Regions from separate parts of the Homo sapiens genome. Here region 1 is linked to region 2. Evidence: promoter capture Hi-C in human tissues and cell types (Jung and others, 2019). All regions are on one chromosome and are shown on one strand. Each heading gives the region's core, a stretch centred on a gene start or on the middle of the fragment in contact. The rest is flanking DNA. Distances are from core to core; before and after follow the strand shown. Region 1 has its middle 70 kb from the start of CUX1. Region 2 holds the start of CLDN15 (claudin 15).

Region 1 (2,700 bases), core at 160-2,659, 510 kb after region 2:
AGAGGCCCTCGGCCTCCCAAAGTGCTGGGATTACAGGTGTGAGCCACACCACAGTTGCCCTCTAAAGTCTAGTTTTATCTTGTGAAGAGTGAGGAGCCGCTATGAGGTGATAAGTCAGTGTCCTTCCAGACCCTTCCAGGAAGCCCACTCCGACTGTTACCCTGGGGTTCACTGGTATCTCTGAGCACCTTGTGCTTCTGAGCCAGGCCCCCGGCTATGGAAGGGGTGGGGGCGATGCTCCTAGAGGTTGGAGGACAGATCATGAATGACAGAACAGTCTGATTTTCCTGGAGGACGCCCCTCCTTAGACAGGGCAAGCCCCCAGCCAGTGCCTCCTCCTTCCCAGCACTCAATGCTCCTCCTCTGCCTCCTTCACCTTTCACTTCCTCTTCCTCCACCTTCTGCTGCTCACCAGAGTCCAACTCACATTTCTTTAAAAACTTAAAATGGGCTAAGTGCATGGTGGCATGCACCTAAAATCCCAGCACTTTGGGAGGCTGAAGCAGGAGGATCGCTTAAGGCCAGGAGTTCGAGGCTGCAGTGAGCTATGATCACACACTGCTGCACTCCAGCCTGGTTGACAGAGATCCCATCTCTAAATATTAATAATAATAGACTGGGTGTGGTGGCTCATGCCTGTCATCCCAGCACTTTGGGAGGCTGAGGAGGGCAGATCACCTGAGGTCAGGAATTCGAGACCAGCATGGCCAACGTGGTAAAACCCTGTCTCTACTAAAAATACAAAAATTAGCCAGGCCTGGTGGCGGGCACCTGTAATCCCAGCCACTCGGGAGCTTGAGGCAGGAGAATCACTTGAACCTGGGAAGCAGAGGTTGCAGTGAGCTGAGATCGTACCACTGCACTCCAGCCTGTGCAACAGACCATGATTCAGTCTCAAAAATTAATAATAATAATAATAAAATAAAGCTTCTTTGATGAACGGATCCAAAATTTTCCGATCAGAAAATCTAGAAAGAAGGTATTTTAATTTCAGCATATGTGTAAGTTTCATGGTTTCAGGGGTGTCCAAGGGAGAGAATACAGTCACAGGCTCTTAGTTTCTGTTTCTGGTTGGGTCAGTAAATCCCCTTCCTCATCCCTCTTTTCCGCTTGTCACTAGAGACAGAAACTAAAAACCATGGTTTCAGGCTGCTAAAAGCCTAAAACAGAACAGAACAACAACAGCCAAACAAGGCAGGTTGGGCAAGCTTGATAGGGTTTAGTATCATTTTTTATTGTTTATTCTGTATGGACAGGGCACATCATCTGCTCATTGTGGGACCTGCGCAAGACCCAGATCAGGGCTACCTCCTCCAGGAAGCCTTCCAGGCTCTACAGGCTGCGTCAGGTCCTATCTGCCGTGCTCCCACAGCCCCTGGGGTCCTCACCATTGCAGTCCTCAATACGCAATATTGGAGTCATTGGTTTACCCATCCCTCTCCCTCATCACGAGCTCCTGGCGGCAGAAACTAGAGTCATTCCTCCCTGCGTCCCCAGCGGTGCAAGCAAGGTGCCAGGAACAGTTAGTGGCACTGAGTCTGAGAAGCAGGCTGGCCTGTGTAAGTTGCCTTCTGCTCCAGCTGTGTCCTGGGTTGTGATGGGATCAGACCGCCTTCTAAGAGGCCCTTTCACAAGCTTGCCACCCTCCCCCACCGGGTTGTGGGACCCTCTTTGGAGCCTCAGAGAAATCCCTTTCTTCCTGTCTCCCTGGACTCAGCCACCACCCTCCCAGCCTGCCGGGAGGGGACTCCCACAGACACCTCCCCTCCCTGTCCAGCCCGGAGGAGGGGGATCAGATGCCGGGCTGGAGGCCCCTTGTCTGCACAGAGGCAGGATTTATCTCAGTTTGGGGAGGTCTGGGGCCCCCAAAGTCCTAGATCATCATTAGTTCCATCAAAGAGGCGGCTGTGATCTCAGAGACAAGATGCATGGTGTTCAAATTGGAAACAGCCTGGTGGGCCGAGGGGCCGCGCTGGGCGGGGAGAGGGTTCGGGCCGCCTCCGGGGGACCCCAGGACACTGGAGGCATCCCACAGACGGTCACAGGAAGAGGAGGAGGAGGAGGAGGAGGAGGGAAGAGAAAACATTCCACTCAGGCTCCAGGGAAGAGAGCCGTGCACAGATGGAGCAAAGCCAAGTCTGCGAGTCAAGGCGACCTCCCCACGGAGGCTGGAGAGAAAGGATGGCCAATTGTACTCACCAGTCACCCCATGAGGGTCCTACTGCGTCCCACCCCGCACCGCAAACCTTCGTGGGCCCTGTCTCACCACCCACAGCAACCCCTGAGAACTAGAAAGTGAAGGAATGCATTGCCTTTGCTTTACAGATGGGGAAACTGAGGCTCGGGTGGGGGGAGGGCAAATGGATGTGCCCTAGATCACCAGGGGTACCTGGCACGGCTGGGGTTCCAGCCCAGGTGCCTGGGTCTCTGGAACTTCACCCTGACTCTGGAAAGCCATAGCAAGGAATTGGTTTTTTTTTTTTTTTTTTTTTTTTTTGAAACGGATTTTTGCTCTTGTTGCCCAGGCTGGAGTGCAGTCTCGCGATCTCAGCTCACTGCAACATCCGCCTCCCGGGTTCGAGCGATTCTCCTCCTCAGCCTCCCAAGTAGCTGGGATTACAGGTGCCCACCACCATGCCTGGCTATTTTTTTTTTTTTTTTTTTTTGTATATTTAATAGAGATGGGGGGCTGGGCACAGT
Region 2 (2,700 bases), core at 93-2,592:
GGCTCCTTCCCTGCCACACGGTGCCTGGTGAGTGGACTGGCCCTGAAGGACCCAGGAGGGCGTGCAGCGGCACCACACACAGTTCACGGTCGCCAGCGCTCAGTCTCTGGCATAGGGCAGACGGAAGGGAGACTGCCCCGGAGAAACAATGGGGCGGCCTCATCTTAGCGGGGAGCAGGGAGCGGGAAGGTGCCGCAGCCACAGAAAGAACTGCCCTGGGCCCAAAGAGCTGTTGGCTCCAGCCCTCTAAGACCCCAGAAAGACACTGTCCTGGAAGCCCCACACACCTGCACACACACCGCCTCCTTACAGCGGACGCTCAACCTGCAACTTGCAAGACGCCTCCCTTCACAGGGGCCCTTTATAGACATCAGCCGGACAAGGAGACCAGTGCCCCCCGACAGTGAGGCTGGGGAGTCTGTGGAGCCTGGAAGTTGATCAACCTCTAAGAATCCAAGATGGGGCCTCCTCCCCCTGCCCACCCCAGCAATCCCACCCCCAAAACATGCTCAACCGTACTGAGTGCCTATGTGTGTTAACATCACGCTAACATTCTGCACTTTCTCAGTCACCTGTGAACTGGGACTCTCACCCTAACCCTACAGGTGGGAGATGAAGCTGGTTTCATCATTTGCCCACAGCACAGGGCTGGGAAAGGGGGTCTGATTCTGGTGCCTGCACCTGTAACAGCTAAAAGCGCCACACTAGCGCAGGGGGCCACGTGTGGCAAGGTCTTCACTCCAGTTCTAGGCATGGGCCGCCCCCAGCACTCCTGGCTGCGGGAACTCAGACCCGCAGAGCTTAATTCAGGGCTCCCTGCATCCTCACGGAAGTACCCGCCCTCCCCTGGGGTCTCTGCAGCTTCCCCGCCGCCCTCTCTCCCTGGAGCGCTCCCCACCCCATACCAGAGAGGGCCAGCATGGACGGGAACTCCCAGCAGTTGTAGACGCCCAGGGAGTCGGTGGCACAGCTAAACCAGAGGTTCTCGAAGATGGTGTTGGTGGTGATGACGTTCCCGTGCACAGTGGACACTCGCCAGTAGCTGTTTGGCAGAGTCACCCCCAGCATCAGCAGCCCCACAGTTGCCATGAAGAAGCCAAAGGTTTCCACAGCCATCGACATGGTGGGATGCAGGACCCTGGGGGGCTGGTGCCCCAGAGAGGGGGAGGGGCAGAACCCCTAGGGAACTGGAAGGGGCTGCGGCTAAGGAGGGTTGTCCAGGCAGGCTGGGGTGGAATCAGCCTCAGCCTCTGCCTGCCTCTTCCTCGGGCTCAGGTCCGTCTCCACTTTCTGCCTCCCTCCTGCTCTGTGGGTCTCTCTGCTTCCTGGCAGGTCAGAGGAATGAGCTAAGCCTGCGCGCGGCAGCTGTTGACGAGATGGAGGGAATAACCGAAACGGGCCAAAAGTCCACCCCCTCCCCCCAGCCTCTGGGCTGCCCCGGGCTCCCCGCCCCACGAGGGTGGGGGGGGCAGACTTACCCTGGAGCCACTGACGGATACAGCCAAGGAGGGGCCCCCAAGGGAGGCACTGGGAACTGAGGGGAAGCGTCTGTCTCTGACTCAGCTTTCATTGGGGGCCAAAGAACGGAGTAAGAGGGACAAGGAGTGAAAAGATGACAGAGACAGACGTGAGAGCAATAAGGGACAGAGACGGAGAGAGAATGAACAGCAGCCTTCAGTGGTGAAGGACGGAGGAACCACGAGAACAATCTAAGATACTCAGACCAAGGGGTTGGGGCGTATGAGTCTCTTAAGGAAGATCAAGCTGGAATGAGGGGATGGGAGGGTAGGAGACCCACAGCTCTGGGCTCCATCCAGCCTGGAATGGAACTCGGCCCCACCATCCATTCACCAGGGAACTCAGGCGGGGAGTTTTAGTCCCCTGAGCTTCTGCTCTGTCAGTGACATACCCGACTGCTTACTGCAGGGGCTGTGGTGAGAACTGGGACCAGGGGCCGGGCGCAGTGGCTCTCGCCTGTAATCCTACCACTTTGGGAGGCTGGGCTGAGACGATTGCTTGAACTCAGGAGTTCAAGACCAGCCTGGGCAACACACTGAGACCTCGTTGGGACCAGGGAGTCAAGCCCCCCACACATAACCAGCGCTTGGCACCGGGAACTGTCCTGGATGTGAGTGTCACAGGGCTGAGGCCACCAGGGAGTCGCTCTCACCCAAAACTCAAATTTCCTCCTAAGTTGATCTTTGACTCAGCATCGAGCCTGGTCCTGCTGGCCAACAGCCTGGAGCGTGATCCTGTGGCTAAGCTCTGCAACCTGTTCCCAGTTATCAGGGACTGTCACCCACTCTATTCGTTAATGATGATGGATTAGCAGCCTCTGGTCCCCATCCCGAGCCAGTGCAGAGCACCTGTCCCAGAGCAGACACTCTCATCTCCTGCTCCGGTTCCCTAGGGCTCTGTCCCTGGGGGCCATCAGCGCTGGCTGCGCACCTCCCTGGCCCCACGGCCCTGCTGGGCTTCTCCGGCCTCCCCTCAGGTGTCTCCTCCCTACTCCTGTGCTGGCCTGGGCTGTGGAACGAGAGGTATGCGGTGAAGCAAAACAGGCCCATGCCGAGCCTGGCACGAGGGGGCGAAGCTGGCTAGGTGGGGCTGAGTCCTGACCTTCCAGCCCACAGGCGAGAGCTGGGGCTCCCTGGGCTCTGACCTCTCCCGGGACCCCCGCCTACTCCATGCCAGATGCAG

What was found. Contacts are between HindIII fragments. The study calls those that stand out against the background at their distance.
Region 1: a fragment that was not itself captured here is called in contact with the fragment with the promoter of CLDN15 in region 2 in 2 of the 25 tissues and cell types used here (mesenchymal stem cells and small bowel).

What each region holds. Positions count from the first base shown.
Region 1 is chr7:101,746,141-101,748,840 of GRCh38, forward strand. No RefSeq gene overlaps it. Among named protein-coding and RNA genes, the nearest start is that of CUX1, 70 kb to the right of the region's middle. The HindIII fragment of the contact is 5,608 bases long and covers 1-2,700 here.
Region 2 is chr7:101,236,460-101,239,159 of GRCh38, forward strand. CLDN15 (claudin 15) reads right to left here and starts at 1,343. Exons shown (of 5, transcript NM_014343.3): 1 at 906-1,343. The coding sequence starts at 1,122. The HindIII fragment of the contact is 32,734 bases long and covers 1-2,700 here.